Linked DNA regions of Homo sapiens: all the other regions are linked to region 6. Evidence: promoter capture Hi-C in 16 types of primary human blood cells and fetal thymus (Javierre and others, 2016). All regions are on one chromosome and are shown on one strand. The core of a region is centred on a gene start or on the middle of the fragment in contact, and the rest is flanking DNA. Distances in the headings are between cores, read along the strand shown.

Region 1 (3,814 bases), core at 434-2,933, 1.4 Mb before region 6:
CCCCGCGACGAAGGATCCGGGTGTGCGCGAGCAAAGGAGCGAGCGGGGAGTTCTAGGCCCAGGACAGCACCTATTTCCTGCTGGTGTAACAGAGCACCTTCTCTCACTACTCTGGCCATACCACCCCCGCGATAGAGGAGCAACACAGCTGTCTCTGTGCGCTCCGGATCAGCGCTTCCTAGATTTCTAGCCGGATCGTTTGGAGAAGGGCTCTGCATCTTATTTCCGGTGGCGGTGAGGTGCAGTTGCCATGGTGATTAGAGAAAGGCCGAGATCTGTCCAGCTGCGGTGAGAGGAACGCTGAATCGCCGAAGAGAATTGGCTGCGCTTCCTTGTTTGTGAGCTAGAATTAGGTAGCAAACAGCTCGCTGTCTCTGTCTCTTCGCTCCCTCTGTCCCTCTCTGTGCAGCTGCTTCTCCTTCCTCTGCTTTGTCTACTTCTCTGTCATAAACATTTGGTCCATGTATGTACCTAAAATGTACATGTAAATGCGGTTTTATTTCCAGAGGAATACAAAAATAGAGAGATGGTGCCCGAGATTACCTGTGACGGTATTTCACTGTGTAGGGACGGTGACTGGACGGCTTTCTGTTTTCACTTGGCCCTGTAGAAGCCTTAGGCGCTTGTTAACAGTTTATTTTTCTTGCTATTGTGTGGCTGGTTATTTATGGAGCCGTTTGCTGCAATGTACTCTCTAGGCCCCTGTCTCAGTCTCGGGCCGGAGTTTTAAGTAAGGGAGGTTTCCAAGCCTGCGGGGGGTGCAATTATATGTTTATTTAAGCTTTAGTTTGGTTTCTCGTCACAGAAAGGAAAAGAATAAAATTCTGGCACATTTCTGCCTTGGGATTTCCATGTGAGGGAGTTGCCTTGTTTGGAAAGAATATTTGAGGACGATCCTAAAATATACTTATATTTTAAAATTGCTTATTGCAAAGTGAAATTCATTCTCCCTTACTTCTTGAAACAGTTTTCTTTCACATTTGTGAGGAGATGCATGCACACATATGTGTTTAGAACTCTGATGCTTAATTATAGTATTACCAATTTGCAGTAACCAGACTGTGACACCACATCCCTGTGGGGTCCTTCTAAATCTGGTGTAATATGAAAGTGTCAGGCAGGCGGCCTGCGTATTATAAATAGGGTACTTCATCCATGATAAGCAATTATTATCTTTCTTTCCCAAGTGTAAATGATCTATATAATTCGAAAAGGTGCAAGTGATTTAGGCCTCCTGAGTAGGAATGCAATGAGTCCTGAAGGGGACCCTACCTGTGTTATCTTATTATTGAACTTGAAATATTCAATTTATTAGGTTGGAGATCTATTTTTAGAAGTCAAAGCTGGGTAGAGTAATATTGGAAGCTGTTAGACCACCAGTAGAATCTAATACCCCATAGTAACCATTGTTCAGTACTATATCCACATTAACAAAGAAGAAACTGTTCGTGAAATTTACGGCTTTTTGCCACTTACTGCTAGCTGGGTGACATTGCTACCCCTCAATTTCCTCATCTGTAAAACGGACAAAAAAATACCTGACCGCTGTAATAGGGATAAGACAAGATGTATGACAGTTCTTTAAGCTCTTATGTACAGAGGTGCTATACAAACCCCAAATATTGTTATTAATAAAGGAACACAGTAAAACTATGATAATGCTATAAATAAGACTTTTAAAATATAGCTATTTGAAATGTGGGGCTGCATTATTGAGATGTTAATGAAATGATCTTGTTGATCCTGCTGTGGAAGATGGGTGTCAACTACCACTCATATCCCGATTCTCATTATTCTGGAGTTTCTCATTATCTGCAGTTTATTTAGCACTTACTACGTGTCAAGCAATATTGTATATGCTTCACATGTATTAACTGATTTGCTCCTCTTAAAAACCTGATGAAGACTGTCATCTGACTTTCGTATTTTGAGAGAATAGATGTGTGCTCTTCCTTTGTTCAGTGATTCTTCTCTTGTGTATATCTTTGTTCTTTTGGCTATTATCACATATTTGAACAATTATATATATACATATGTATATATCTAAAATTAGAAATTAACTGCCAAAGGCTTATTCTTGTTTAATATATAATACGTCCATATACAACTATAGTATTCGTCTTTTACTTCCACATATAAAACTTTTAATATCTTGATCTTTTCATATATGTTATAAATTTTCTTCTATGTATAAAATCTTGATTCTCCTCCCTGTATTTGAAAGACATGGTGACATTTGTGTTTTAGTGACTCACATTGACAAACACATTTTTAAATTATTTTCCAATAGAATGGCGATCAGTCCACGAAGCGATGCAACTTTCTCCAGTCAGAAATCAACACCTTCAGAGAGTCCTCGAACAAAGAAATTTCCACTAACTGAAGAGGAAATATTTTATATGAATTGTAGAGCTGCCTACTTAACTGTCTTCAAAAGCAGCTTGGAAAACATTATTTCTAAAGATCAACTTTACTTAGGTAAATTTTTAAAATTTTTAAATCTTTCACCTTTTTGTTGAAAGTTAATAAATAGGTCCGAAAGACTGAAATTAGAATTACCTTGTTGAATCATCCCAGTTTCTTAGTGAAGCTTGAGCAATGGAACTACAGTAAGCTATTATGTCATATCATATAGTTACATATTCTAGGAACTACAAAATAAAACTTTCAATGTTTATACAAACTAGATGGGTAATTGAAAGCTTCTATCAATTACTACTTGCTTAAGATACTTTTAATTCTCATTTTGGTGCTTTAAGATTTATCATAATAAAATTAAAACGCTTTTGGCCTCTTAAGTCACTAGCCTGAATTTGACCCATACTGAGGAAAGTGTAAAGGATGTGTAAAAATGGGTGGAATGTCTGAAAAAGTGAAGTACTGAGAGATAAGTGAACTTTTAAAAGAGAATTGAGTTGGGGTTTTTTTATTTCTTATTTTTATTTTTTGTTTTGTCTTTTATTGCTTCTGTCCTTTATCACATTTAAAAATTCCTCTCATTACAAAGGTCCCCAAAACCACCAAATTTGGTTCTTTCCAGGAGTATCAAATGATTTGGACATCTTTAGTCATGAGAGAGTAGTAAACAACAGTACTAGATAACACTGACTACTCATGTCAGTTTCATCAAGGCTAATAACTTTATGGGTAGAGAAACTGAGTTATTTTGCCAATTTTATAATGAATTTTCTTAAACCAAAACCCTGACATATTTGTGCAGCAGTGTCTTGAGTTTGTATCCAATAAGATCTATTTGAGGAAATGTATTTTGAGGAATACAAGAATTGACAAGATTAAAATTTATTTGATGTCTAAATAAAATACATTATTTGTAAAGTAGTTTAAATGCAAATGCACATGACTGACTTTTAAAGTCATGTTTAATTTTGATTTACATAATTTTAAAATTACTAAAATGCTCTATTTTGAATTTTAAGTATTTGTGTTTAATTCATATACATTAAATGTTTAGGCAGACATCCAATAAATTTTTTTTTTTTTGAGACGGAGTCTTGCTCTGTCTTCCAGGCTGGAGTGCAGTGGCGCGATCTTGATTCACTGCAGCCTCTGCCTCCTGGGTTCCAGCGATTCTCCTGCCTCAGCCTCCTGGGTAGCTGAGATTACAGTTGCACGCCACCATGCCTGGCTAATTTTTGTATTTTTAGTAGAGACGGGGTTTTGCCATGTTGGCCAGGCTGGTCTCGAGCTCCTGACCTCAGGTGATCTGCCTGCCTCGGCCTCCCAAAGTGCTGGCATTATAGGCGTGAGCCACCACGCCTGGCCAATAAATTAAAATTACTTCTAATTTGCCATT
Region 2 (3,582 bases), core at 232-2,731, 1.3 Mb before region 6:
GTGAAATTGATTGGACCCAAGACCAGTATGAAAGTTCCTTGTCTGAAGGGAGTAATCCTTAAATCCCCCATATGGTTTAAATGTAATTTGTGTCATTGTGAAGGAGTACTGGCAATGCAGGCGAATTCATTAGGCCAAATTGGGTTCGCTATGCTCGACAGTAACGTTTCTGAAGATGAAGTTCAACCTTTGCTGGAGAGCTAAAACAAATGAGTTTCTTAATAGCTGCCCCACTTAGTCTGAGTGTCTTAGGAAGCTTAATGTTTTTAATGTCTCTTCTTTTTTACTATACTTCACAGTCCATCTAACATTGCTGCTTCTGGTAATATTTTTATATGGGGTTGAGTTCTATAGTGTTCATAAAATTATGATCAGGCCCATTTTTAGAATAGAAGCTTTTCTAGGGCAAGGATTATGTTCTTTTGGTATAGTTTTGCATATTGACAAACACCATGCCTGGCATGTGTCGTTGCTTAAAATGTTGCTCTCGTAATTCTGCCCTCAGAAAGAACTTCACCGAGAGACTGGGAGGCTGCCAGCAGAGACTATGCTGGAGTGTGGTGTATTATGTGGGCAGAGAGGCTTTGGTATGGGATGTGGGAATATCCTTGTGCCCAAGTACCCCCAAATTTACCCTGGGATTTCAAGATCTCATTAAGAAAACTACCAATTATGTGGTTGGCTGCTCTGTTATTCCAATGAAAAGATTATTGGAATGATATTTTATAAATCTGGATCTATTATCGGATATGTCAAGACACACATGCCAGCCTAATTCACAAGCCCATATAAAACCAGGGAAAACTTGGCACAGAACTTACAAAATAGGAATTTAAAAAATCATTTATAGTACGTTGAAAAACAGTGGTTATGTAAACTGTTAATAAAGCATGCTTGCTTTTTCAATTAATTTCTAAAGAATTTGACTTTTAAAAACAAATTAAGAGCCCAAAATAAGCTATAAAAAGTAGTCGTCTTTTGGCTGACTGGTTTTCAACATAATAGATGTGTTTTGTGAATTGTGTTAATGTTATGTCTCGAGGTATTTCCTGCACATGGGCCAGGCCCATTTGTCATTTGAAGGGGCTCCCTTGCCAGTGGCCTACTTTCTGCTTGTGAGCCTGTTATTCCTGCTGGTCTTGTGCAGAGCAGCCCCGGAACACAGCGGCATTCTTGACAGAGGGCAGTTGGCAGCTACCAGTGCCTGTCTACTTTCGGATGCTACTTGACAAGTTAGTATAAAAAGACTCAGATTTTGTTGCTCAAGGGATGATTCACTTTTCCCTTCAAAACCTTAATTCCTCAGTGCATGTTTGGTCTGTTGTCCAGGCTGGAATACAATGGCACGATCTTAGCTCACTGCAATCTCAGCCTCCCAGGTTCAAGCAATTCTCCTGCCTCAGCCTCCCAAGTAGCTGTGACTACGGGTGCACGCCACCATGCCTGGCTAATTTTTGTATTTTTAGCAGAGACAGGGTTTCACCATGTTGAACAGACTGGTCTCGAACTCCTGACCTCAGGTGATCTGCCCACTTTGGCCTCCCAAAGTGCTGGGATTACAGGTGTGAGCCACCATGCCTGGCTGAGAACACACATGTATGTATTTAAATAGATCATTAATAAAATCTCAGGGATCAAATGGAATTAGATATGAAATTTATTTAGGTAAAATATTTTTAAACATCCTAGTTTCTTCAAATACAAAGGACTTAAACTGCTTCCCTAAAAACATTTTATTAAAAGTCAAGTATGCTTAAAACTGAGAAAATGTTAAAAACGAATCTCATGTTCATATTATTTTTCTAAATAAAAACTCGATCCAACCCTGTGTACTCAGAAAAACATATGTATATTTTTTCCGTGTTTTGCTTACATTTTTAAGGACTTGGTGCATCCTCACGCCTGTTTTTTTGTATATTCAAAGGAATGACCAAGCTGTTGGTTATTCAGGGCAACTTTGGAGGTATCTGTTCTTCTAGAACTGAACACTGTTTTCTTAAATCTTTGGTGGCCAATGAATAAATCTGTTAGATAATTTTTTTCCTGATAGATTGCATGTGTGAAGTAAAAATAATTTCTTAGGTTTCAAAATGACAGTGATGTAAGAAAACCAGGGGTAAATTAAGCTCCCTCACTTCCATTTTAAGATTGACCTTTAACTTGCTAGGTGGCATGGGGCAACTTTAGCTGCAGATGGCCTTCTCAGAGATGAATGCCCAGAGAGGCTCTGGTTTAAGGGATGGCAGGAGCAGTGAGAGCCACACCAGGGTGTCTTGTTCACAAATCTGCTTCGTGGGACTGCATTTGCCCTCTTTGCCTGGGCTCTGAGAGTGGAGCCTGTCAGCCACCTGGTGTTTACAGCTGAAGTTGGCTGCATGCAGCACTCCTTGGAGCTATCTCTACCCTAACGGGGAAATGAGACAAAAATAATTGAAGGGTATTTGGCTTGGTTAAGTGGGCAGAAGTGTCCTCATCAAAACAACTTTGAAGACCTGCTTTGTGTGTGGGTGCGAGTGGGTGTGTGGCCCTTAACTTGTTCACAAGGGACAACAACAACAAGGAATTAACCAAGCTTTCTCATTGAGAGTGATCGTCCATGCAAACCCTCTATTTTAGTTACTCATACGACACTGTTGCAGCTTCAGGTTGGACAGACCTATTTTGGAGTCCCTTGACTGCTTTCTGGACACCCTCACTGAGCCAGTCGGTGGAAGTGAAGGATGAGTGATTTTGAAGAATGGATTTCTGGGACATATAGAAAAATGGAAGAAGGTCCTCTCCCTCTGTTGACTTTTGCTACAGCTCCCTACCACGATCAGAAACCAGGAACAAGTGGATTACGGAAGAAAACCTATTATTTTGAGGAAAAGCCATGCTATCTGGAGAATTTCATCCAGAGTATATTCTTTTCCATAGACCTAAAAGATCGCCAGGGATCATCACTGGTGGTTGGTGGAGATGGGCGGTACTTTAATAAATCAGCAATAGAAACAATAGTGCAGATGGCAGCTGCCAATGGGGTGGGTATATGATAAGTATTGTTATGTTTCTGGCTCTCCAAATAACCTTAATTTTACAGAAGTATACAAACGTACAAGGATTTATATGTGGTATACACTTCAATTCTACTAACATCCAGCTAAGTTTCATTGTAACTTCAGTGATTGTATATTGTGAAAATACTTCAGAAATTACATTAGCCACACTGGGATACAGGAATGTTAAGTTCAGCTTCTTAGGTATTATGCTGTGTTCTGTTGCTTGACAAAGTACCTGTTGCTTTTTAGACATTTAAAGCACACTCCCGGTCTTAAGCTGTTTTATCTACATTCTAACTAGCTTCAAGGGGCACCCTGTCCTGTGTAAGAGGGCTCTACTGAATGGTGGAGAGAAGAGGATTTTGTTTTCTTTCAATGGCTTTCTTGTTGAAGTTCAGTCACTTGTCAAACAGGAAAACAAAAGCCAGGGCATGCTGTTGTTTATGGATCCTGGTAGTCACGCAGAAATGCTAGGAGGGGTTGGAAAATGTTAGGTGTGAGCCTTTTGAGGGGACCTGTTACAGGGGCACCTGCTTATAATGAC
Region 3 (3,819 bases), core at 1,188-3,687, 2.0 Mb after region 6:
TTTAAAATTTCTGTGTTTTTAAAAAATAAATTTTATTGCCGAGGGAACTAAAAAATCTAATATGTAAAAGAAATTATGTTAACTTTTTTGTTTTAAAAATTAAAGATGGTTGCGTTATTGTAAGATAAAGGAAAAAAATATTTTGATTCACTAATCATTTCCTAATATTTTCTAATGTATGTTTTAGTTTTCTTAAATATTTTATCAGTTGGAGAATGGAATGTTTTGTGGGAACGCATGGATTGTTCAACTGCAAGAAGGAAAGAACTGGAATTTTGTTTTTATTTGGTTTTTAGTGTTTATTTAATGACCTGGTATCTTTAAACAATTTATCTTCTATATTCTTCAGTTACTTGTAGATAGTTTCATGTATAGTGAATTGGGGAAGAGTTAGAGGAACTTTCGTGATCTGTGTCCTACAAAAAAATCTAAGACAGGTGAAGAAGTGAAAAGTACAATTGATTTATAGTTTTCCTGGCCTCAATACTTGAATAATTATGACGATTTTTGAGACCAGTGGTTTTAAACAATTAGACAAAGGAGAAATGCTTGGTTGGCTTTTACTTTGAGCTCTCAGTAGATTCATTCTTTATGAAGCCAATATAAAAGCATGTGATTAAATAATCCAGATGCTGAATTATTGTGCTTTTGATCAAATAAATCTGAGGATTTAAGGATAGCTTGTGAAGTAACAGTAAGTGCAAAGCAACAGTATATATCTATTTGTTAAATCTGAGGGGGAAAACAGGTTATTGAAGAAGTATGTCTCCAGAGAAAAATGTAGGTATTATGCTTCTGGGCTTTTAAAAAAAAAAATTGATGCTTCCTACAAGAGCATGACCCTGACCATGTTTTTCCAGAAAAATATTTAATTCTTGAATAGAAAGTGCTTTAGATGAGAATAGGATATACTAATTTTTTATATTTGATCTGATTATCTTAGTCCATAATAGGAAGTATATATTGGTTCTTCAGTTGTGATAACATTAAAGCCGTATTTAATGTACTTAGAATAAATAGCATATGCTCCCTTGCTTAATACTTTTTGGCAATATTTCTCATTGCTTATTATCCCTTAAAATTATTTACCAACCTTCTAAAAGGACGCTCTCCTAGTCACACTTGAAGGAAATTACAGGATAGTTGCAGTTTTACTAACTGCAAAAATAAGAGGAAAATGAGAGAAAAAATGAGAGGAAGAAATAGTTAATCCTTTGGGTTTTATAAGGAATGTACTAGGGACCTTTGGGAACGAACAATTTGTCTTGTATTTTAGCGTTTGTAAACACGTAAGGGACTTTCTTCTCAAGGAAAAAAATCCATGGACAATTCAAGACCTGTCTTTTCACCTAGGCCACATTTCTGTGATATAAAGAGAAAATTAATGGATTTGCTTCTTTCTATTTAAGTATTTTAGTACTTTCAAAGAGGGTATATAATCTGTTTATTCACTTTCACACCTATCCATTTCTCTTTAAAATGGACTCCTTGCTTAGTATTTTTTGAGTGTATTTGGATTTTTTTAACGAAGGATTATGTTAAATGTTACTTATGAAAACATTAATTTCTACTCTAAGCAAAATGTGTTTCACTGCAGTGAATTTAAGCTTCAAATAATTCTCGACACTAATAATGAATTTTTTTTCATGTTTATACTTCAGAGCTATTAAGATTTTAAAAGTAGTCAAGATCACCAGTGCGTGAGAGTCCTAAAAATCTTAATTCATTGGCAGTTAAGAGTTAGGGTACTTTAATAGGTGGGAAAGGTTTGGTGGGAGAAACAAGTGAATTACTTTAAGATAATTCTGGTAAGTGAGACTAACCAGTTTTCTAAATAATTCAGAAATAAAACACTGCCATTGAAGCTTAAGCATGTCTTTATGAAAAGTAATCAGCTATCTAGAAATGCCTGCCTGGCTTGATGTTCATTCAAAATTCATTGCAGTGATTAAATTGTTCAAGTACCAGTCATTGCTTGGGGCTTGTTCTGTTTGTCTTATTCTGTGGCTTAGAACAATAACTTATTATGTAGGTATGAAATTCATGAAGTAGCACCCCAAAAAATTGTTTTTGCAAATTGAGATTTTTTTAACAGTCCTAGATTTAAAAAAATAAATTTAAACATATCCCATGCATTTAGCTGCATACTCCTTAGTAGTGTTAGGTTTCTAGAGCAATTTATAATAAAAGTAAAGTTAGGTCTTGAAGAAATCTAAATCTTTTGATCATAGAGAAAATGAAAGTGAGCAGAGAGTTTACGTAGTTTGTCCTAGGTCGTGCAATTCATCTATGGCACAGTTTAGACTGGAACCCAGCCTTCTGTATTCCTAGATTCCTAGTGCTTATTTTCTTTTTCTTTCTTTCTTTTTTTTTTTTTTTTGAGACAGGGTCTCTCTCTGTTGCCCAGGCTGGAGTGCAGTGGCGCAAATCATAGCTCACTACAACCTCAAACTCCTGGGCTCAGGTGATCAATCCTTCCCTCAGAGCCTCTCAAGTAGCTGGGACTATAGGCATGTGCCATCATGCCCGGCTTTTTTTTTTTTTTGTGGAGACAGGGTCTCGATATGTTGATCAGACTGGTCTCGAGCTTCTGGCCTTAAGTGATCCTCCTGTCTTGTGCTGGGATTATAGGCGTGTGCCACTGTTCCCAGTCCTTATTTTCTATGATATCATTTTACTTCTGAATTATTAATACTGTAGTAAATTGCTAATTTTAATTTCAGTACATTCTTAACCTTTTTATACCCCAGAATTCCTGAGAGTAATAACAAAGTTAAGTAACTTAATTTTATTGGAGGAGAGGGATGGTGAGCCAGCCCTTGGCACGGTAACCATCTTTCACCCTAAAGTAGGACCCCTCTTTCCAGGCTTCTATCCCCATCTCCATTGCTGTGAGAATCTCTGACTTAGAGTCTACATAACTAAGTAGATGACGGCAATACTTAAAAGAAATGGTGGTAGAATTGTTTTGAGGGGAAAAATTTGTTCAGACGGTAATACTCATTGCAAATAAGCTTTTGATTGCCTGGAATAAAAAAATCTAGTAATTACTTCATGTTTTTACTATGTTGTTGTTAGGGTTTTTTTGGTGAAAATAATGGTAATGTTGTAGTTAGTTATTTCTTTACTCTCTCTCAAATTATAGTCTTCTGTTGTATGGGACATTTCCCACCATGTTCTAGAAAAATATAAAAGAGAATTATTTCAGCAAATCTGAGGCATTGAATATTCGTTACAACTATTAGCAATTTTATCAACTAAATCATACAAATATGTGGGTGAGGGTCAACTTGCTATAAAAGTTGCTAGAGTTTGTTTTTAATTTGTTTTAGCCCATTCATACTCTGTGTACAGTCTTTCTGTCTCTCTAGTGTTGTTTTCCATCTCAGATAAGATAAATATGTACCCCCTAAAACACTGAATTTTTCAAAATTACAGCTTAAAAAATAGTAACAAGTACTAGGTTTTCTTAAAAATCAAAATTTAGAGGAAGAAAATGAAAATGTCTCATAATTCCACAAGATAATCAGTTCCCAGTGACTTTCATTTTAAGAAAGAATGCATAGTACATGAAAGTGGTTAGAAAATTTCAACAGTACAGAAAGGTATTAAATGAAAAAAGCCTCTTCTCCCTGACCCCATTCCCTAGAGGTAACTATTGTTAACAGGTTCTTGTATGTCCTTTTGAGGAAAAAAAATTTATTCCATATTATTTCATATTCCAGCCCAGTTTACGCCCTGTTCTACAGTTTTCTTTATACTCCTAATTTTTTTTGGCATTTATTTCTCTATCAACACAAACAGATATCTCTATTTTTA
Region 4 (3,671 bases), core at 1-2,500, 1.4 Mb before region 6:
TCCTGCCCTTTGCGCGGCCTGCTTGCTGGGGGGCAGGCGTTTGAAACATCTAGTCTCTGCCCAGTGGTGCCCGGGATCTGTTCCACCGACGGGGCTGGAGCTGAATTTTCATTAGAATGGCAACATACCCAAAGACGCCCTTACGCAAGCAAGCAGTCGTGGCAGGCCAGGAAATTACCGCAACACCTTGGTTCCGCCCCCGGCCAAGGAAAGTTAACTGACTTGATTGGGCGGGTCCACTCGGATAGGGGAAATTAAAAAAAAAAAGTTTTTCAGTAAATCTGATATATGGAAATGTGGGGCCGGGCATGGTGGCTCACGCCTGTAATCCCAGCACTTTGGGAGGCTGAGGGTGGTGGATCACCTGAGGTCAGGAGATCGAGACCATTCTGGCTAACACGGTGAAACCACGTCTCTACTAAAAAATACAAAAAAAAAAAAAAAAAAAAAAATTAGCCAGGCGTGGTGGCGGGCGCCTGTAGTCTCAGCTACTCGGGAGGCTGAGGCAGGAGAATGGCGTGAACCCGGGAGGCGGAGCTTGCAGTGAGCTGAGATCCCGCCACTGCACTCTAGCCTCGGCGACAGAGCGAGACTCCGTCTCAAAAAAAAAAAAAAAGAAAAAAAAAGTGGATTGATAAGTTGGGGCTAATTATTCACTTACTTTTGTAAAACATTTCTAAGGAGTTCTGAGGACCAAGTTTTCTTTCTATATTTTAAGTGAGATTTGACTTATGCCCAATTCTTCTGGAACGCATCCCCTGAAATGGATATTTTTATTCATTTTAATAGTACTTTATTTATCTTATTTTGTTGACATTGAGTACTATTTGCCAAGCACTATGGTAAGCGCTTCATTTCTGGGTCTCATTTATCCTCCTGCAGCCCTATAAGGTAGATGCTATTATGGGTATCTTCAAGTTGCCAACGAGGACGCTGAAGCTTAGGTAGGTTAAATAATTTACAAAAACTATAATGGCAGCACTAAGAGTCCAATATAGATCTGCCAATCCCAAGAACTTGAACAGCTCCTGAGAATGAAGAATGAACAGCCCTTGATCTTGAAGATCTGTTTTCCAGGCTCCAAAATCTAAACTGGGCTCTATCTACATCTGCCTTCCTGGGCCAAACATTTATAAGCATCAGTGAGAGAAGATTGCCTGGATTTGTTTACTTTGTGGTCCTGAATTTTCAGACAAGCGCAAATTCCCATGAAAGAAGAACAGACAATAGCTGTATCCCAGTAGATCATTTCCCTGTTACCACCTGTGCTGAATTTGCATTTCATTCATTCATTCATTTATTCAGTCAGTCATTCAACAGATCCTGTTGAATACCATGTTCAGAGAAATGTGTGGACTAAAAGGATGATGCAGACCCAAGAGTTGTCCTTAAGGAGCTTACAGCAGAGTGGGAATTTTAGGTGCCCAGATGGAAATTTGTCCATTTGGGAGTAGTGTGGGGTGGGAAGGAAAGAATTAGTTAAGACTAAAAAAAAAAGTTCTTAAAACTTCATCACCCTTTAGCCATTGCCCTATTGCTCTTCTCTCAGCCAACCTTTGTAAAAGCTTTCTGCATTCACTATTTCTCATTCTCACCTCCGGTTTACTCGCCATTTCACTGCTTCTGCCCCCTCCACTACTCCAGTAGAATTGCTCTTGCCAAAGTTACTAGGGACTTGCCAGTTGCTAAATTCATGGAATACACTCTGGTCTAATCTTATTTGGCCTTTCTGCTGCATTTGGCAGTGCTGATTTTGTACTCTTGTAAAGTTCTTCCTCCCTTGGCCTTGCTTACTCTCCTGATTCTACTCACACTTTTTGGAAGTTCCTTCATGGGCTGCACATTGACTATCCCCTAGGTTTCTTTCTTCTTTCTTTCTTTCTTTTTTCTTCTTCTTTTTTTTTTTTTTTTTTTTTTGAGACGGAGTCTTACTCTGTCGCCTAGGCTGGAGTGCAGTGGCGCAATCAGCTCACTGCAACCTCTGCCTCCCAGGTTCAAGCAATTCGCCTGCCTTAGCCTCCTGAGTAGCTGGGATGACAGGCATGCACCACCACACCTGGCTAATTTTTATATTTTTAGTAGAGATGAGGTTTCACCATCTTGGCCAGGCTGGTCTCGAACTTCTGATCTCAGGTGATCCACCCTCCTCGGCCTCCCAAGGTGCTGGGATTACAGGCGTGAGCCACTGCGCCTGGCCTATTCCCTAGGTTTCTACGCTCAGGTTGTTCTCTGATTTTGTTCACTCTCTCTACTCACTCGGGATTTAAATATGCTACTCTTTCTCTTGTGATATGATTCAGTCCAGATGGCATCTTCAGAAACCTTTCTTGACACCCCATCCCTACCACTCTTCTCCACCTATTAAGTGCTCCTTTCCCATAGATAATTCTAGAATATATATATTAAATTCTAGTGAAATTTTCCGTTTACATGTCAACGGCCTCCAACTAGAGAGTAAGCTTCTTTAAGTCAGACCTGTGTTTTACCTGTATCTGCAATGCCTAGGACTATGTAGCATTCAATGAATTCTTGTTTATTTGCTCTGAACTGTGAGTCACTTTTGTATTCTAGCACTTGATTTAAAGCCAGCATGTAGCTGGTGACCAATAAATTTATTCACATCAAACATTTATTATGTGCTTGCTTTGCCTCAGACATTGTACTTGAGATACAAAATATTTTTGCCCTTGGGAAAGACATAGTCTGGGAGGGGTGGTATACAGGAGTAAGCAGACAGCACAATGTGTCAGGTGTTGTGATGGAGGGATGTGCAGGTGTCTTTAACCTGAGGGGCTGTACTTGGGAGGGGAAGATGAAGGGAGGGAGGCTCCATAGAGGGGTGGTAGCCGAATTGAGTCTTAAAGAATGACTTGGAGTTCCCAGAGTGGGTTTGTCTGGTAGGAGGAATTCTTAGCAGAATGAATACAAATTGAGGGAGTTTAGATTAGATACAAATACAAATTTCTAGTCCTTTTTTGTTTCATCCACAAAGGTTGGGAATAATACATACCTGAAGAGCCTGTTGTGAGGATTAGATGAAACAACATATTTACAAGTACCTCACTTGGAAACTGTTCGAATGATAGGTGTGTTATCAATGTTTTGTTGGTATTAGGACACAATCCAACGTGATGCAGATATGAGCCACCCAGATGGTCTCCCACCTTCCTCTAATCCTCAACAGCCTCAACCAATATAGAGGGGTTCCGTGTTAGTCAGAGCCCAATTGGGTACAAATGACAAAAACCTTACTTGGATTACTCCAAGTGAAAAAGGAATTTTATTGGCCCATGTTACTGAAAAGTCCAAGAGAATCCCAACGAATTCTTTAGTTGAAACTATTCCTGGTCTCTAAAAATCACTTCTGGGTCTAATGATCTGCAAATGACCAGCATCAGAAATTGAGGAGAGTTTAAGCTCACAAATGAATGTGTGCATGTTTTGAAGGATGATTTATCACCACCCTAAGCAAAATAAAATAAATACCTTTGTGGGAACTTATGAGCAAGGAGGGTATTTGTTGTTGTTGTTGTTGTCAAGTTACAGGGATTCTTTTGTCACGGCTCCTTTGCTACTCATTTGTGCAAACTGTGGAGCCCCTTCTCAGAATATATATTTTTAAAAATTTGAGACATGGTCTTACTCTGTTGCCCAGACTGCAGCACAGTAGC
Region 5 (3,580 bases), core at 742-3,241, 1.3 Mb after region 6:
AATATTGCAAGCATATAAATGTAATCTCATGATAGAATAGTAACAATTACATAAAAATACTAAAGTTCATTTTAAATACTACCTAAACTAGGTCATGAATTCATCCTATAGCTTTTTCTCCCAGCAGGCATAATTGAGTTGCTTTCCCAAATGCCAGGTTATTCTACCCATGCGAGTTATAAAGACCTTTTTCTTGAAGGGATTACTGCTGAACTTCTCCTAAGTCATGACTTTGTGATGGGAGAGATATAAGTAACATGTTCGTTGGGCTTTTATAACTCTAGAGAAAGCTCTTCCTAAATCTTGGAGCTTACTGCTCAGCCAACTTATTGACTTTGTTTAGGAGGTGGCCATTAGCCTCTCAAACCACAGAGGTTTGGACTGTTCAACTACAGTAAGCCCAGAAGCAAAGAGAGATTAGAACACAGCATCACTGGGTGAAAATGGGGAAAGCTAAACTGCTTCGAAATTGCAGTGCTCTGTCCTATACTCATTTCTGGAGGAATCAAGAAGAGCCTGAAGCAGAAGTGACCCACTGGCCTTGGAGACAGGAGGCAATGGAAAAGCACAGTTCATCCACAAACCAGCCTCTCTGAGCATCAGCTTCCTAGCTGCGTGACATTCCCAAGACTCTTCCCTGCACTAATTTCCACATTTATAAAAAAGAACCACAGATGTGTCCTTGATGGTCATCTTACTGTCATCTGTTACCACCACATACGCTGTCTTGTTATGTGGCTTGGGAAAATCTATAAACTGGTCTTTTGGCTTTGATCACCTGATTGATTTACTGTCAGCAGATGATATTAAAATTAGCTTTCATTTGTTGAGCAAATCTGGATGGGCAATTGAGGTGGAAACAGGGAGTGGCCTGGGTGGTGGCTGGAATTAGAATAGTAATCTCTTGTGTTTTAGAGGTTACAAAGCACTTTCCCACATGTAGTCTCATTGAATTACTACAAAGTCCTGCAAGGGCTGGTATTCTTAACCTCATCAGACAAATGAGAAATTGATGTTCCGAAAGATAAAGTGACTGGTCAGCATTCACAAAAAGATTTGGTGGCAGTACAAAAAGTGGAATAAAAGCAAAAGCTCTTGCTTGCTTTCTGGTGCAACACATCAGAGATTGATTAGAATCTACTATAAGGCTTTTTGGCTATGCTGAGATGATCGACAATTAATTATAAAACACTGTCAACATAGACACTGGTGCTCTTCTCTTTCTGGGCTTTCATACCTGCTCTTCTTGAGGTTTCCCTCCCCAACCTCTATCTGTGTGTAACTCCTTCAGTTTATCACTTGGAAACCACTTCCTCTAAGAAGACCCAAGACCTTGCTAGATGCCCATCCTATGGGTTTCCATGGCATCCAAATATTACCCACACTCTGTTCATACCACTCTAATTCAATTGCCTGTGTTGGAATATAGCTCCATTTAGGCACTAAGAATACTTATTCACGAGTCATTCATGAGTGGTTATTTTTTCACCATTGTAACCACAACACCTTGAACAGTAGACCCTGGATAAACATTTCTTGAGAAAATGTTGCCTGATCTGCTGTAGCCAAGAGGAAGTTTTGCTTCCACATTGCCCTCAGGGCTGGGAGGGAATTAGAATCTCTTCCCCTACCCTCCTGCTTTATTAAGGTATAATGGACAAATAAAAATTATATATATTTATGGTGTATAGCATGATGTTTATATATATATGTGTGTGTGTGTATATATATATATATATACACACACACAGTGAAATGATTAAATCAAGCTTGTTAATATAATCTGTCACCTCATAGACTTTTTGTTTATGGTAAGAACATTTAAGATCTACTCTCTCAGCAATTTTCAAGCATACAATACCTTATTGTTAGCTAAAGTCACCGTGCTGTGCAATAGATTTCCATAGCTTATTCCTCCTAACAGAAACTTTGTACCCTTTGACCAATCTTTAAAGCCATCCAAGACAGTACCATTTCCAGAAGGAGGCTCTTAGGAATCCAAAGAAACCAAACTCTAGCTATTTGCATAAAATGTTAGATCATTCCCAGAAGTAAGCCTTAGAGTTGAGAGAGTACTAGAAGTGTGACAAGGATGGAGGTTAGCATTTGTGTATCCTTATGGGAAAACAGGTAAGAGCGGATATTTTTGGAGTTACTGGGAAACTTAACCATGACACTTGGCCTGCTTATGTGTCTGGTATTATTGCTGGGAACCAAGCTTCATGCCAAACCTCTAGCTATCAGATGTCAGTTTTGGGAAGAGACTTGAACTTGCTTATGTGGTTATTTATAACAGTAGTTTTCTATTTTGTGTCAGGTTAGAAGACACCATCACACCACTGAAATATGTTATCAGAACCACATGCAGATAGAATATCGTAAATATGGTAGATGATGAGCAAGACCTAGGACTCACAATTCAGGAAGATACAGAACCCAGCATTTAACCTAGTACCTACATGTACAAAATCCTTTCAGGTATTTAGGAGTTAATAAGCATATTAATATAATCATCCTACAAAATGAATTTGTCCAATCTTGTCAGTGAGGTCATTTCTGCAAAATTTTAAAGGGCTTGTAGAGTTTGACAAGAGATAAACATTACAGGCATTGTGCTGAATTTTCAGCAAAAGCAGTCATAGGCAATATAAAACAAAAGAGCACGACTGGGTTCTAATAAAACTTTATTTACAAAACTAAGAAGTGGACCACCATGTTTGCTACATCACGGTTTTCTGACCCTGGTAAAAATACACCTATCAATTCCCATTTTTACTCTTTCATTTCCTTCTGGAAATCTTTCCTATGTTCTCCATCATCCATAAGCTAAAGCCTAAACTCCTTAACTCTGCTCTGATCTGAACAGTCCCTCATATTTAGTGGTCCTTTTCCTCTCTTTGTGCTCAAGTCACATTTTTCCATGCGGATAATGCCATTCTCAATGCTTTCTACTTAGTCCAATTCTACCCATCCTTTAAGGTAGATGTCTTCAAATGACATAGAGGGGTCATATCAGAATCATCTGGGAAGCCTTTTGACAATAAACACAGTGCTCCTCTCCCACACTAAATTCTCGTAGACCCAGTGAGGAGAATGGGGAAAGCAGGGACATACAGGGTTGGAAAATGTCCCTCGCCTTATTCAAGAAATTCTCACCTTCTTTTAAAACTACTGCTATAGGACATTACTAAAATCCACTTCCTCCAAGAAGCTCTCCCTGATCACATAAACCCATACTCAGCTTTTCTTTCTGTGGACCTCCTCAGTCCTCAATGCTCACAAAATTCATTTTAACACCTAGAGTATTATTTGGCTATTTAAGCTTTTCCTGTGCCAGGCACTGTTATAGGTACTGGTGTACAGCAGTGAACATGACAGTGAATGCCCTTCTCTCAGAAGATGACACTCTAATGACTTGAAGAGACAGACAAGTCCATGTGCCCAAAAGAGTGAAAAGATAATTTCAGACAATGGAAACAAGATAATGGGATAAGGAGTGACTGGAAAGCAAAGCGTAAGGGATGGTTGGAGGGATAAGGAAGTGCTGTTTTAGATAAAGAGGCCAGGAAAAGCTTAAGAA
Region 6 (3,365 bases), core at 87-2,586:
TAATGACAATTTTATACCACTGTAAATTCCTGCCAGTGAGAGAAAAACCCTATGACTTGGGGGGAAAAGTGTCAATGACATGTATAGCGATGTACTCAACCAGGGGCAGAAGGCAGCTCACAGCCACGTAGTAAGAAGAGTGGCAGGAAGGACGGGGTCCCCTTCCCCAGGAACACACAGGAAATCATGGAGTGCAAACCCTCCAAAAAACGTGTGCACAAACACCTGGCAAACATCGCATCTTTTATCTAGAAGTTCCGTGGTAAACACACATCCAAGGAGCCCACATCCCAGGGACCCTGGGGAGTGACTTTGGAGGAGTGTCTATTAGTCCTCCGATGCTCCCGGTCGCCGACGATGCGCGGATGGAGTTGGAGTGAGGGAGCCAGAGACCAGCCCCAGTTTCGGTTAATCAGTCCCTTTCCAGTGGGATTCGCAATTCCCCGGGTAGTTCTCTCCCACTGTTCCCCTTCCCTGGTCCTCTCGCCCAGGGTCTCCTTTCCCACTTCTCGCTGGCTACCTGAGGCCTGGTTCCTAACAGAACCTAAGAGGGGAGGGGGCGTTTCCCGAGTTCGCGGACGCCCAACACCCAGCTCCAAATCCCAGAAACTTTCCCTCGCTGAGACCGCAAGGAAGGAAAAAAGCTAAGACCCTCAGCCTCCTTCCTGGGGCCGAAGAAGAAAACCTTTCTGCGCTGCCACCCCGGCCGGGAGCTGGCGGTCAAGTTCGCGGTACAAGGAGCTAGGGACGTCAGCCCTCCAGCCCGCGCCTGTATCTCGGGGTGGTATAAACAGGATGTCAGACAGCGCGCTCCGGGCTTGTTTATGAAAACTTGCCGTGCGCGCTGGGGGAGGGGGCGGCCTGGCTTAACCGCTCTTCTCCCGGCCGGGGGCCCCCGCCCGGCGACCTCCTCGCCGCCCGCCGGCTCCGCGGGGCTGGAAATCCCCGCCTTCCCCGCCCGAGCCGCGGGGTCCTGAGCTGCGCTCAGGAGCAGCCCGGGCCGCGCAGCCTAAGGACCGACCAAGAGCGGTGGCCGCGCCTCCGGCCAGTCCGGGCTGCGCGCCCCTCGCCTGCCGACCGCGGCCGCCCCGGCTCCTCCACCTCCCCCGGTGACACTCACCACTTCCGTGTGCGCCTGGGCCAGGCAGCGCCCCGTCGCTGCGCTGGCTGGGGTCGACCGGCAGGCTCGCTAGGCGGCCAGCCCCGCGGGGCCCCAGCGTGCGCGCGCCCAGGGCTGAGGAGGGGTCGCGGCGAGGACAGCCGGGACTGGGCGCAGGCCCGCACTGTCTGCAGCTCCAGGATACTCCGCGGCCGCCGCGGCCTGCGCTCAGCGACGCACCGCCTCCCGTCCCGCCCCGCCCCGCCCCGCGGCCGGCCCCACCCCCGTGGCCGCCGGGCCCACCCCCTCGCGACGTCACCAGCGGCAGCCCCGGAAAGCGGGGCGGGGTCGCGGTCCCGGCGGAGACTCTGCGCCTCCGGCCTACCCGCCCCGCCCCCATCCGGCTTCGCTCGCGAAGCTGCCCCCACTCGTCTCTGTTCACCGCGTCCTCTAGATTCTAGAATCTAGAAACTCATCTAGGACGCGAGGTCATCTATCGCGGGGAGTAAAATTGCCAGGATTCGCCCGTAGATTGACCCCTCCCAGCTCTGGAGCCCCCTCCGCCACACCTTTGTGCGCTCGATGCAGAAATGCATCCCGCCTCCTCCGTATACGCTCCGCTTCTTACCCCAGCTCAGTAGGAGAGGAGCTAGTGGAGCACTAGACTAAAAAGAATTTAACAATACAGCCCCCAGCTTGGACAAGCTACTGCAGATCCAACCCATTCCGTATTTTAAAAGCTCTTTACGAAAAAAAAAAAAGCATATGCATAATAGGAATTAGAACTACATTCACTGATACCTAATGCATGTACAGCGCTTTTCATTTTTTACTAATAACCTCTCAAAGTAGTAGCATCATCTTATCCATGAGGAACAAATTAAGTCTTTAGTGTCTTAATCAAGGTCACACTGTAGCCAAGATTCATACTTCGTAGGCAGTCCACGGACAAATCCTAACAATTTTATTTCCTTAGGTATCTCTCCAATCAGTTCACTTGTCTATGTTCCGGCAACACGGTCCGAGCTGCCACCATCTCTCACCTGAAGGGACCACGAACATCTCTTAAATCGTCACTCCATTCACTCCAGCCCCCAATTAATTCTCTACAATGAACTTTTAAAAATTCAAATCTGTTCCACACACTCCCATGCTTAAAACACTCCAGCGACTTCCCCCTGACAATCCCTGGATGAAAATCCTCCGAGGCCGTGCACGGTCAGAATTCTGCAGCTTCAGGGCTGTGGACAGAGGCTGCCCCACCTGTGCTGACTTCACTAACCCTGCTGGACAGTTCCTGATCACTTGAGTTACTGCAACTGAAACTGAGCAAGATATTCTGGGTGTGGAATAAAGTCAAGCATCCGAATTAGACTACTGAATTTGAGGTTTGGCCTCCACCAGTAACCACCTGTGTTGCCCTAAACAATTCTTAGTTGACTCAATTCTCAGTGGAGCAGCAGACAAAAGGATCTCCAAAGTGCCTTCCAGAAGTACAGAAAAGAGGACCAAAGAAGACCGGAGATCAGAGCAGACAGGGAGGCAACCCGGGTTGCCTGCATTGTGGGTGTTTGTGTGCAAGTCTTGTCTCATCTGCCACACTCTGAACAACACCTCAGGGCTGTTTGCATCATTTTCTTCACCTGTTAAATAGGGATAATGCCTTCCTTAAAGGGGTTTTGCTGAAGGTGAACTATGATAATATAGCCCACATGGCATGGGCTCAGGAAGTGGTAGGGGTTTTTATTGAGCTGGACCATAAAGAACAGGTGAGACTGACATGAAGGGAGACAGAGACGTGAAAGAACAGCATTTCAGGTGAGGATGTAAAGAAAAAGGAAAGTCAGGAAGGCAGCAGTGAACCCATTGTGCCCACGAACGAATCTGGCTGTTCACAGGGTGGAATCAGGGGGAGAGGGCCTGGATTCAGTTTAGATCTGTTCGTCTATAACAGACATTGTGCTAGGTGATGAAGATTCAGAGAAAAAAAAAATAGACTAGGTTCCTGACCTCTGAATGCTCAATGCAGTCAGAGAGACAGGCAAGTAACAATTCAGTGATTCCCGGTCCTGTAATGGTGATCACAGAAGACAGTCACCCAGCCGAGTCTGAGGAAGTCAGAATAAGCTTCAAGTAGCCGACAGGAGGCAGGAGTCAGGAGGTAGCGGCATATTCAGGCAGTAATAGTATATGCTGGCTGGGTGTGGCGGCTCATGCCTGTAATCTCAGCACTTTGGGAGGCTGAGGCAGGAGGACTGCTTGAGGC

Evidence for each region. The method cuts DNA at HindIII sites, captures the fragments that hold promoters and counts their contacts. A CHiCAGO score of 5 or more calls a contact.
Region 1: a contact is called between a fragment that was not itself captured here and the fragment with the promoter of JAK1 in region 6, in 1 of 17 cell types (naive CD8 T cells). The highest score is 6.2, in naive CD8 T cells.
Region 2: a contact is called between a fragment that was not itself captured here and the fragment with the promoter of JAK1 in region 6, in 1 of 17 cell types (neutrophils). The highest score is 6.8, in neutrophils.
Region 3: a contact is called between a fragment that was not itself captured here and the fragment with the promoter of JAK1 in region 6, in 1 of 17 cell types (activated CD4 T cells). The highest score is 6.2, in activated CD4 T cells.
Region 4: a contact is called between a fragment that was not itself captured here and the fragment with the promoter of JAK1 in region 6, in 5 of 17 cell types (naive CD8 T cells, total CD4 T cells, fetal thymus and 2 more). The highest score is 6.2, in naive CD8 T cells.
Region 5: a fragment that was not itself captured here is called in contact with the fragment with the promoter of JAK1 in region 6 in 1 of 17 cell types (non-activated CD4 T cells); the score reaches 5.3 in non-activated CD4 T cells.

Annotation. Positions count from the first base shown.
Region 1 is chr1:63,523,282-63,527,095 of GRCh38, forward strand. It overlaps EFCAB7 (EF-hand calcium binding domain 7), which reads left to right and starts at 244. Exons shown (of 14, transcript NM_032437.4): 1 at 244-353; 2 at 2,291-2,478. The coding sequence starts at 2,292. It also overlaps a transcript of ITGB3BP not described here. RefSeq lists an enhancer at 128-207. The HindIII fragment of the contact is 1,809 bases long and covers 780-2,588 here.
Region 2 is chr1:63,620,741-63,624,322 of GRCh38, forward strand. The region is part of intron 1 of PGM1 (phosphoglucomutase 1); the gene reads left to right. Among named protein-coding and RNA genes, the nearest start is that of PGM1, 29 kb to the left of the region's middle. The HindIII fragment of the contact is 2,177 bases long and covers 394-2,570 here.
Region 3 is chr1:66,932,042-66,935,860 of GRCh38, forward strand. The region is part of intron 2 of MIER1 (MIER1 transcriptional regulator); the gene reads left to right. Among named protein-coding and RNA genes, the nearest start is that of MIER1, 9.0 kb to the left of the region's middle. The HindIII fragment of the contact is 1,149 bases long and covers 1,864-3,012 here.
Region 4 is chr1:63,594,360-63,598,030 of GRCh38, forward strand. The region is part of intron 1 of PGM1 (phosphoglucomutase 1); the gene reads left to right. Among named protein-coding and RNA genes, the nearest start is that of PGM1, 2.8 kb to the left of the region's middle. RefSeq lists an enhancer at 29-88. The HindIII fragment of the contact is 626 bases long and covers 938-1,563 here.
Region 5 is chr1:66,301,632-66,305,211 of GRCh38, forward strand. The region is part of intron 7 of PDE4B (phosphodiesterase 4B); the gene reads left to right. Among named protein-coding and RNA genes, the nearest start is that of SGIP1, 230 kb to the right of the region's middle. The HindIII fragment of the contact is 449 bases long and covers 1,768-2,216 here.
Region 6 is chr1:64,965,213-64,968,577 of GRCh38, forward strand. It overlaps JAK1 (Janus kinase 1), which reads right to left and starts at 1,337. Exons shown (of 25, transcript NM_002227.4): 1 at 1,121-1,337. RefSeq lists a silencer at 682-1,561. The HindIII fragment of the contact is 15,152 bases long and covers 1-3,224 here.